Linked DNA regions of Homo sapiens: region 2 is linked to region 1. The links are contacts of gene promoters, found by promoter capture Hi-C in human tissues and cell types (Jung and others, 2019). All regions are on one chromosome and are shown on one strand. The core of a region is centred on a gene start or on the middle of the fragment in contact, and the rest is flanking DNA. Distances in the headings are between cores, read along the strand shown.

Region 1 (5,791 bases), core at 589-3,088:
ACTATTTCTAAAGCCATATATGTAGAATCACAAACACTGAAATTTAGGAGACCAAGTGTAAGGAGAGGACAGTGAAGGCAAATAAATGATTTTTTAACAGAACCAAATCTGGCTGAATGCAGTGACTCACGCCTGTAATCCCAACATTTTGGGAGGCTAAGGTGGGAGGATCACTTGGGCCCAGGAATTTGAAACCAGCCTGGACAACATAGCAAGACCTTTTCTCTACTAAAACTTTAAAAAAAAATAAACTGAGTGTGAGTCTGTAGTCCCAGCTAGTTGGGAGGCTGAGGCAGGAGGATGGCTTGAGCCTGGGAGACCAAGGTTTACAGTGAGCTATGATCATACCACTGCACTCCAGCCTGAGCAGAAGAATGAGATTCTGTCTCAAAACAAAACGAAAACAAAAACAAAGAAAACAAATCTAATCTAATACACTCTTGGGTATGCCTTTTTCAGAGACACGTTTCACAACCTGTGAGCCCACACTCTTGCCCAGGAACAGCTCTGAACAGAAAGAGAAACAATAAAAGCAAACAGACTAGTGACCTGACAACAACCACTCTGTCCTCTCCTCCTCATTCTTTTGGTTTCCCAGATAAGGAAAACCACAAGAACACAGTTGATCTATACATGCACATCATATGCAGATTTTGCAAGCAGTCTCCAGTTTAAAAATTGTTTTTAAAAGTGTTTATATGTGTATTTAGGGTTTGGGGCACGTTTTCTCTTTTAAAAATGCCACAAATAGGACGGGCGCGGTGGCTCACGCCTGTAATCCCAGCACTTTGGGAGGCCAAGGCGGGCGGATCACGAGGTCAGGAGATCGAGACAATCCTGGCTAACACGGTGAAACCCCGCCTCTACTGAAAATACAAAAAATTAGCCGGGCGTGGTGGCGGGCGCCTGTAGTCCCAGCTACTCGGGAGGCTGAGGCAGGAGAATCGCGTGAACCCGGGAGGCGGAGCTTGCAGTGAGCGGAGATAGCGACACTGCACTTCAGCCTGGGGGAAAGAGCAAGACTCCGTCTCAAAAAAAAAAAAAAAAAAAAAAAAAAAAAAAAAGCCACAAATAGAATGTAGGTTGCCGGGCAACTCTATAACATATCAGAAGTATAGTATTTGTTATCTCACTACATTTGGCCACAATTCTGATTAGTATCATAATTAGTATTAGATGGCACATCACCACCGTAACACCCACTGGCAGTTGGCTGAGGCCTAAAAGTGGCCAAGTCTATGAGGTCCTTCCCGAGCTCGGCAGCAGGCTGATAATGAAGAAAGTTGCTTGATGTGATTCTTTGCAGGTGGACTCTGTCAAGAAAAGCCCAAAATATTCGTTACCAGACACGCAACCAGGAGATGAACACAAAGCAAGGATGGGGGAAACAAAACAGAGGAGGTAGGGTTGCCAAGGTGTGCTGGGTGCAGACAACGGAGAGGAGGTGGGTGGGTGCGCCGTCCTATGGGGAAGAATGAAGGGGAGAGGGTGTACTGGGGGCACAGGGCTTTGAGAAACTGGGAGCAACAAAGACGTGAATGGACTTGGGTAGGTCTGTAAGGGGTTCTTAGAGGCTGTGAGTGGATGGGGGTACGGATAGTGAAAGAAGTGGGGAGCCCGGAGAAGTGGTCGGGATTGTAAGCAGAAAGTGGGGACCTCAGAACACCGAGCTCAGGTTGGAATGATCTAAGGACACAAAAGCATGGGGCCTCGGGGCTGGGGCGGTGCGACTACCGGAGGCGCAAGTTGCGCACGGGGTCCCGGGAGCGATACACTGCCTCCCCGGTGTCAGTGCTCCAGACGGTCTCCGCCATGACAGCTGCGACGCGCCGCGACTGCGCCGGAAAGCGCGCCGCTCTGTTTTCCTGGCAACGGAGACGCTGGATCGGGAGGCGACGGAGGTGCTGCGCGCGCAACCCGCCGTTCCCGTCACGGCGCCACGGTCGCAGTTGGCCACACAGTGCAAGTGCAGCCCAAGCCGAACGCCCAAGAGGGCTCCGGGGTCCTACCGATCACCGCTTACCATGTATGCGATAAAAGCTCACCGAAAGCGGGACCTCGTGCGCTGTGCAAATGAGGAAACTGGCACAGCCATCAGCCCACTTCATATAGACAGATAGATGCAGAAATGATGACGGGGACCAGGTGGCCTGAGTCTTCGCCCTCTACCTTTTCCACCATGCCACACTGCCTTCCACCCAACGCGTGAAAACTTTGGCCTGAAAATCGGGTGATGTGACTGTAAGAAATGCACCCATTATTCCCAAAGGAGTCAGGGAAGGTGATGGCCCTTAGCCAGACAAGAAAATATATTCTTGGAAGACAAAAAAAGTGTCAGAAGATTTATTAGTCTTTGTGTTGATATTCACTGAGCAAAGAAAGAAAAAACAAGGAAGTCAACAGTAAGGAAGGAAACGATGTTATTATTGAACTGATTCTTACCTTGTGTATGTTAGTTTTGGATCATTAAGCCACTTTGTTACTGCACTGGCTTCCTGAAAAGCCAAAAAAGTGACATTCACAAGTCATGCTTCGTTGTACTAGCAAAGGAAGGACATGCTGTAACCTCACGTCTGGCGTCCCGGCACTTTGGGAATGTCAACATTTATCAGCCTTGTTCACATCTAGTCCTCCTCCAACAAAGTAAGCAATTGTCCCCTGAACTCGGGAATCTCATGCCAGTTTGATGATTTGGCATTGGAAGCTCTGGGTGCCATAGCCACTAGTTGTGTAACACCGACTCACCATAAATAGCACCATTTATTTAGGATCTAGTGCAGCTTGAGCACTTTTGTTTGCATTGTCCCAAATCCTTGTAGAAGCCTCTCAAAAAGGTACTTTTATTCACTTTAAAAATGAAGTTCGTGAAGGCCAGGGTTTAAAGGACTTGCTAGCTTGCAAGTGGTAAAAGTACTGGGATTCTAGCCCAAGTTCTTCTGTCTTTTGAAGCCTAACCACCTTCCAGTTTGCCTCACAGCCTCTCACCTACCAATTTATTCCATAAACGCACACATTTCCAACCTGGGAAATAATAATTTTTTTTTTTTTTTTTTTGAGACGGAGTCTCGCTCTGTCGCCCAGGCTGGAGTGCAGTGGCGGGATCTCGGCTCACTGCAAGCTCCGCCTCCCGGGTTCACGCCATTCTCCTGCCTCAGCCTCCCAAGTAGCCGGGACTACAGGCGCCCGCCACTACGCCCGGCTAATTTTTTGTATTTTTAGTAGAGACGGGGTTTCACCGTTTTAGCCGGGATGGTCTCGATCTCCTGACCTCGTGATCCGCCCGCCTCGGCCTCCCAAAGTGCTGGGATTACAGGCGTGAGCCACCGCGCCCGGCCGGAAATAATTTTAACATAAAACAAAAGGCACCTTTCTAGCTCCTAAGAAATTGTCTCTCCAATGTTTCCTTTTAAAATTGTGAGTAGGCAATCTGTGCCACATGCACAACAGCTGATAAAGTGGAGCCTGATTCTAGTTTAATTTTATAACCAAATCTAACTTATAACAAAGTTAATCTGACATAATTATATGCAAAATAGTTTCTATACCACGTTATGGAAATATAAGCTATTTGTGTAAGCAACCATAATTAGTATTATTTTTATATAGGTAAACTAAGTTTTCATGTTTTGTTTACTGATTTCTATGAATCAGGATCCTTTTATGTTTAAATATTCAGCTTATTGGTCTTAAGTACATTTACCTTGTTTTTCAACCATCATCACCATCCATCGCCACTACTTTCTTATTTTTGAAAATTGAAACTCTGTTCCCATTAAATAGTAACTCCTCATTCCCCTCTTCCAGCCCCTGGCAACTACCATTCTACATTTTCTCTCTATGAAATTTGACTGTTTTAGATACCTAATCCATATTGTAGCATGTGTCAGAATGTCCTTTTTTTTTTTTTTACTTTAAATTCCGGAATACATGTACAGAACATGCAGGTTTGTTACATAAGTATACATGTGCCATGGTGGTTTGCTGCACCTATCAACCCATCACCTAGATTTTAAGCCCTGAATGCATTAGTTATTTGTCCTAATGCTCTCCCTCCCCCTGCCCCAGACTTTGCGACAGGCCCCAGTGTGTGGTGTTCCCCTCCCTGCGTCCATGTGTTCTCATTGTTCAACTCCCACTTATGAATGACAACATGCAGTGTTTGGTTTTCTGTTCCTGTGTTAGTTTGCTGAGGATGATGGCTTCCAGCTTCATCCATGTCCCTCCAAAGGACATGATCTCATTCCTTTTTATGGCTGCATAGTATTACATGGTGTATATGTACCACATTTTCTTTATCCAGTCTATCACTGATGGGCATTTGGGTTGGTACCATGTCTTTGACATTGTAACTAGTGCTCCAGTAAACATACGTGTGCATGTGTCTTTATAGTAGACTGGCTTATATTTCTTTGGGTATATACCCAGTAATGAGATTGCTGGGTCAAATGATATTTCTGGTTCTAGATCCTTGAGGAATCCGCACACTGTCTTCCACAATGGTTGAACTAATTTATATTCCCACCAACAGTGTAAAAGTGTTCCTATTTCTCCACAGCCTCGCCAGCATCTATTGCTTCCTGACGTTTTAGTAATTGCCATTCTGACTGGTGTGAGATGGTATCTCATCGTGGTCTTGATTTGCATGAACCAGGATTCTTAAAACTGAGATCCATGAGTGGGATTCAAGAAGTCTATGAATCCTTTCCCTAGAATTCTGAATGGGGGATTTTTCTAGAAAGAGTTCATAGCTTTTATCAGATTCTCAAAGGAGTTTGTACCATGATATCAAGAATGGCTTGGGCCAGACACAGTGGAGTTTAGACCCAGGAGTTTAGACCCACCGGGGCAACATATTTTTTATTTATAAAAAATTTAAAAATTAGCCAGGTTTGGTGGTGCATGCCTGTGGCCCCAGCTACTTGGGAGGCTGAGGTGGGAGGATCATGTGGGCCGAGGAGGTCGACGCTGCAGTGAACATAATTTAAAAGGAAGAAGTAAAATTGTGTATATCTACATACAATATGAACCTAAACAATCCTAAAGAATCTACAAAAATGCCAGCAGAACTAATAGGGTTATAGAATACAAGGTCAATATACAAAAATCAATGGTATTTCTATATACTAGGAACAAACCATTTGAACTTGAATTTTAAAAATCACAGCCATTTAAAATAACATCCAAAAGCACAAAACATAAAATTAACAAAATATGTGCAAGCCTTGTACACTTAAAATGTCAAAACATTGGTAAGATGAAGACCTGGATAAAGTAGAGTACTATAACATGTCCATGGATTGGAAAAATCTATATCATTAAGGTAATTATCCTCAAGATGATCTAAATCTCAGTAAAAATCCCACCAGGTTTCTTTGTAGAATTGACAAGCTGACTCTTAACATCTATATGGAAATGCAAAGGAGTTACATGGTTAAAAGAATTTTGAAAAAGATCACGCCTGTAATCCCAGCACTTTGGGAGGCTGAGGCGGGCAGATCAAGAGATTAGGAGATTGAAACCATCCTTGCCAACATGGTGAAACCCTGTCTCTACTAAAAATACAAAAATTAACTGGGCGTGGCGGCATGCACCTGTAGTCCCAGCTACTCCAGAGGCTGAGGCAGGAGACTCGCTTGAACCCAGGAGGTGGAGGTTGCAGTGAGCTGAGATCACACCACTGCACACCAGCCTGGCGACGCAGCAAGACTCTGTCTCAAAGCAAAAAACAAAAAAAAGAGTCCAAAATAGATCTGTACGTAGATGGCCTATCAATTTTTGACAAAGGTCCCAA
Region 2 (5,791 bases), core at 1,684-4,183, 240 kb before region 1:
ATCCCTATTATACGTTGAAGTTAGAATGATAAATTATCATATGCTTTGCATATCAGAGCTGGTATCACCTTTCCCATAGGGAATGCTGCCTGAAATTAACATATTCCCAAAGGTAAAATGCATATTCTCTGAAATGCATTTTATTATGACAATGCATGTATTTACTCATAAAAACAATAAACACAGACAATTCTACACTAGCTCTCAATCTGTGGATTTAAAATTTCAGGTTAAAATCAGCCATCCACCTTGTATAGGGAGAAGAGTTCTGCTAGTGTTTACAATAAAGTGATTCCTTGGGATTAGAAATAGTAATGCTGTTTTTTTATTTTGAAGTGGGTTCTACTTATGATTGGTTTTAATTCTGGCATTTCATCTTGCCAACTACTATCCTGTTTAAGCAATGTTGTCAGCTAAAAGGAATTTCTGATTAAACTAAAGTGGTCCAGTGATAAGTTACATACACACCCTACTTTGAATAATCCCAGCCAAATTGGAGAAAAATGCTACCACACTCTTATTAACTAATGTAATAAAATCTCCCAATTTCATGGTTTACTTTTTGCTTTAATCAACTAAAAGTTAAGTTGCTGGTAAATATTTACTTTTACCCATATTTTGATTTTATAATACTGTTTACCAAGGCGGTGATGTAGGCAAAGCTTGGGGCAAGAAAGGCATGCTCTCTACAGGTCTCATTGCTATATTGAGAGGGGCGGCTAATGTCATAGGTGTGGGTAGATTCATTGGAGATGTGATGGTGACAGGGTGTGCTATATTCACTGGGGCAGTGACGGGGGTGGGGAGGTTGACTGGGGTAGTGAGTGTTAAAGGAGAGGTCATGGATAATGGACTGGTTATAGTTACAGGATGCCCTATGTTCATTGGGCTGGTTATGTTAACTGCACTTGAAACATTTACTGGACTTCTCATGCTCATTGCAGCTGCCACTGTGACTGGGTTTGACATAGTCCCAGACGACACAGAGGATGTTATACTGAATGGAGTAGTGAGAGTCACAGGTGTCGTAGCAGCCGTGGAGGTTTGGCACAGGTTAGCAGCTTCTAAAATAAGAAGAAAAAGGGTCTTTAGATTCTCAAAACAGTGAGCAAAATTCACAAAGTTTCTGAATCAATTTCTTTTCATTAAAAATGTCAAACATTTAATAAATCAAATTCCAGTTTTCTATCAAGCGGTCAACAGAACAGAGGATCTTTCTGAGCACAAGCCTGGGGGCCAGGGATCCCAGTGTATGAATCACCTTCTGATGCTATACCTCCTGCAAGGACTTAAGCAACTTGTTTAGCCTTGCACTTTAGGTTTCAAGTTCAGATTTACTTACCTACCTCACAGTGATGCTGAGAGGATCAGTTAACTTCTGCAATGCAGGGCTAAGTGTTCTCACTACTACTTCATGCAGTTCCTCTGAGTTCTAAAAACTTTCTTGGGAAGAGCCAACCTCCAGCAGGCCAGGCTAAAGAGCTTGTTTACACAGAGCTGGGCCAATGGTTACACAATAACAGATAATCAGAAAAATCTTCTCGTAAGGCACACTGTAACTAGCAGAGAGAGGTGTGCATACTCAATAAGTATGTTAAAGCCTGAGACATGAAGCCACATTCTGTGAAGGTTTTAAAAATGCATAATTGGGGAATGATAAACAAGCTATTTTAGTATCATGTTTGTTTCAGTTTTAGAAATATGTTTCAGTTAAATAATCTTATTCTTTCTGGTTATGTTTCTTAACTACATTAGGAAAGAAAAAAATACTCCTCAATAAGTTCATGTTCTCCTCACTCCCATTTCTTCTTGTTTCTGATGTTGACACAATCACCTATTTTATGCCTAGTATCTTTAACTCTACATATTACACATACCACCAAGCATACCAAAGAGAACTAGCTAGGCAAGGAGACCCTGCAGTGAGTTAGAGGACCCTGGTCCTTCTTATCCAACAAAACCTGGACACTTTTTTTTCTGAGACAGGGTCTCCTTCTGTTGCTCAGGCTGGAGTGCAGTAGCATGATCAAAGCTTACTGCAGCCTCAAACCCTCAAGGCTCAAGCAATCCTCCCACTTTAGTCTACCAAGTAGCTGGGACTACAGGTGCATGCCATCACGCCCAGCTAATTTTTGTGTTTTTTGTAGAGACTGGGTTTCGCCACGTTGCCCAGGCTGGTCTCCTCCTAGGCTCAAGCGATCCGTCCACCTCAGCCTCCCAAAGTGCTGGGATTAAGGTGTGAGCCAGGTCTAGACACTTCTTAAAAAATACTTCCCCTCAAGGTGACATCCCCAACCCACCCCTCAACAAAATTCAGCACCAGAAAACAGCAGTAAAATGATGGGTAGGCTAGCTGTGACTTGGCTATCAAAATGGAGAAATATACTTGAACTAAAGATAGAGATCTGTATATGATCCACAAAGGTCTTATCACCGCAGGGGGACCCTTGAGTCAAGCAGCCCTTACTTGATCAATACAATGTAACTTTGGCACACACCATTCTCCCTATCAGGGATTCCCAAATCTGGCTGATTATCAAAATCAACTATCTAGAGGACTTCAAAACAAACAAACAAACAAACAAAAAAAACCCAACAAAACAAAAACAAAGGACTCCAGGAGAATCAATAGTGAAATTTAGATGGAACTTGGGAAATGTGTATTTTTAAAAAGCTTCCCAGACAATATGATTGTCGATCAGGTTTGAAAACTTATGTTACCTTATTTAGGCCTAATATTTAAAGGACGTTATAGATTCAAGCTTAGATTTTCAGGTCAGGAGTCTCCTCTCCTCTAAAATGTGACATTTACTAACATGAATACAGAGGTTTCTAAGATCAGTGGTCTTTTTGAGAGAGATTCACGCTACAAATGGGAATACAATAACATTTTGTTTCATGGAAGTCAGAAGATGAGCTAAACAACCAAGTCTTATTGTGCAAGCAAATTGAAATACAATACCAAATAGAGGAGTACACCGAGAGAGATTGAGAGAGAAAACCAATTCACTTTAAGGTGCTGGGAGTATTGCTGAGGATATTCTCCACCTGCTTTCACCAAAGAATTTTTACTCTCTTATCTGCTGACCCCCTTACCTCCTCCTCCGTGTTTTCTTTTTAATCTAAGAGTGTCCTTTTACTATGACTTAAACATTTTTACTCCTTCTCTAAGTAAAATACCCTTCATAATATACTTTCAACCCACTATACAATTATCACAGCACTACACTTTTTCCTCCCCATTGCCCGTCCCCTCTCCCCATTCTAACACAAAAGTTCATTTGTTTTGTTTTTTTTGAGATGGGGGTCTCAATCTGTTGTCCAGGCTGGAGTGCAGTGATGCAATTGTAGCTCACTGCAGCCTCAAACTCCTGGGTTCAAGTGACCCTCCCACCTTAGCTTCCTGAGTAGCGGGGACTACAGACACGCACTGTCACGTCCGGCTAATTTTTTGTTGTTGTTGTTGTTTTTGTAGAGATGGGGTCTTGCCATCTTGCCCAGGCTGGTCTCAAACTCCTGGCCTCAAGTGATCCTCCCACCTTGGCCTCCTGAAGTGCTGGAATTATAGGTGTGAGCCATCACACCTGGCCAAAACATTTTATTAAAATAATGACAAATCTTCAGATGGAAGCTAGGAACAAGCAGCACCTGAGGAATGATGAAAAGCCTATACGGACTGCTGCATTCTTTTCTTCCAATGCCAGTAAATGTATGAAAAAGAATGTCGCCAGGGCCCAGTAGCTCACGCCTATAATCCCAGTACTTTGGGAGGGTGAGGCGGGCAGATCACCTGAGGTCGGGAATTCGAGACCAGCCTGACCAACATGGAGAAACCCTGTCTCTACTAAAAATACAAAATTAGCTGGGCGCGGTGGCACATGCCTGTAATCCCAGCTACTCAGGAGGCTGAGGCAGGAGAATCGCTTGAACCTGGGAGGCGGAGGTTGTGGTGAGACAAGATCATGCCATTGCACTCCAGCCTGGGCAACAAGAGCAAAACTCCATCTCAAAAAAAGAAAAAAAAAAAAAAAGAATGCTATTCCTTTTATTTTTATCCAAGTATAGGAGGTTTAGAGATCACTCTGGCCAGGTGTGGTGACTCATGCCTGTAATCCCAGAACTTTAGGAGTCTGAGGCGGGTGGATCACTTGAGATCAGGAGTTCAAGACTAGCCTGGCCAACATGGCAAAACCCTGTCTCTAGTAAAAATACAAAAATTAGTCGGGTGTGGTGGCACACACCTGTCGTCCTGGCTACCCGGGAGGCTGAGGCACAAGAATCACTTGAACCCAGGAGGCGGAGGCTGCAGTGAGCCGAGATCACGCCACTGCACTCAAGCCTGAGCAACAGAGCGAGAGACTCTGTCTAAAAAAGAAAAAAAAAAAACAGAAGGGATCACTCTGAGGAAGGGAAGAGCCACACTACATGAAAGCAAAAGATGGAAGAAACTACACAGAAAAGGAATTACATACAGAGGAGCCCACAGATAGAGGATTCCTTAACATTTAACATAGTAAGACATTGTAGAGGTGGAGGAGGAAGAAGGAATTTACAAATCTGTCCTTTGGCTCATGATACATTGACAAAATGATTCATTTGAAATGGCTGCACAATAGTCCAGAAGCCAAAGCTGTACTAGTAAGTTGAAAAGTACGTTGAAAACTGATACTCCAACTGATTCGTTAGAAAATATACACGAGAGAAAAGCAAACCATTTAAAATTTTTTAAACAATTACAGTAAAGTCCTCAGCAGCAGAAGACTAGATATGTTAAGGCCAGCCAGTGATAGACTGAAGGAGATTAAGGGTGTGACCAAGAGAAAAGACATCAACACTACAGAATCTGAAACATGTAATAAATAATACAATGAAAAAGAACACTACAGAGCAAAAATAGCACAGTTGTAAGAAAATGAACTTATGTACACACAAGGATATCCACCTCTAAAAGTGGGAATATTTTAGAAAGGAAAAAAAAAGCCCATAATGCATGGAGGTTGACATCAAATTGAATATAAAAATGCAACTCTGAGCATAGCAAAGGACCAAATTTGGATCCAGGTTTGTAGCAAAAAGTACATCAAAAGAAAGAACATGATAGGAAGTACTGAGAACTTTTAATTCCTAGTAATAACTTATCTGGACACTTTATTGCCAATAACTATACTTTACCAGATATTTCCCAGCATGCACTATTTCCATGTTTCCATTAAGCTAGATTTCCTAAAACTGTGGCTTCTCTACTTTGATCACTTGGCATACTAAATGAAAACACTTCTCTAGCCATATTTTCAACACTGGAAGCTGTGCCTTACCTTTCTTCCTTGCTTTAACAGCTTCTTCCCACAGTCTCAGTGTTTCTACTTGCTTCCCTGGCCAGCTTGTCACATGTTGTTGTTGTTGTTGTTGCTGCTGCTGCTGCTGCTGCTGCTGCTGCTGCTGCTGCTTTTGGTTACTGGTCTCTTCACTCATGCATGCTATTACAAAGACAAACCAAAAACACTGTATCTACCTGTAAAACTGTTGCCGTTTTTTTTCAAAATTGACTTCTCATGCTTCTGTGATCTTAACCATTTAACCTGATAGCTCTTAGTAAGTGCATCTTTTTTGCTGCTGTGTCTATATTGGTCAAAATAAACAAGCACTAAAAAGTCTAGAGAACTAGCAAAAATCAATATAAAAGAGAAAAGGACTCTTTGCTATAAAAAAAAAACCATCAAAAAAAAAAAAAGCAAGTGTCTTTAAAAATGGAAGTTTGATATTATTAATATAGGACTAATCAACATTCAAC

Evidence for each region. The method cuts DNA at HindIII sites, captures the fragments that hold promoters and counts their contacts. A contact is called where the count stands out against the background at its distance.
Region 2: a fragment that was not itself captured here is called in contact with the fragment with the promoter of MKS1 in region 1 in 1 of the 25 tissues and cell types used here (mesendoderm cells).

What each region holds. Positions count from the first base shown.
Region 1 is chr17:58,217,417-58,223,207 of GRCh38, forward strand. MKS1 (MKS transition zone complex subunit 1) reads right to left here and starts at 1,839. Exons shown (of 18, transcript NM_017777.4): 1 at 1,735-1,839; 2 at 1,204-1,313. The coding sequence starts at 1,814. LOC105371841 (a long non-coding RNA gene) reads left to right here and starts at 1,898. Exons shown (of 2, transcript XR_934884.4): 1 at 1,898-2,643. RefSeq lists an enhancer at 1,667-1,946. The HindIII fragment of the contact is 13,166 bases long and covers 1-5,791 here.
Region 2 is chr17:57,973,837-57,979,627 of GRCh38, forward strand. It overlaps VEZF1 (vascular endothelial zinc finger 1), which reads right to left. Exons shown (of 6, transcript NM_007146.3): 5 at 5,316-5,477; 6 at 1-1,064. The coding sequence ends at 637. Among named protein-coding and RNA genes, the nearest start is that of VEZF1, 12 kb to the right of the region's middle. The HindIII fragment of the contact is 3,172 bases long and covers 1,348-4,519 here.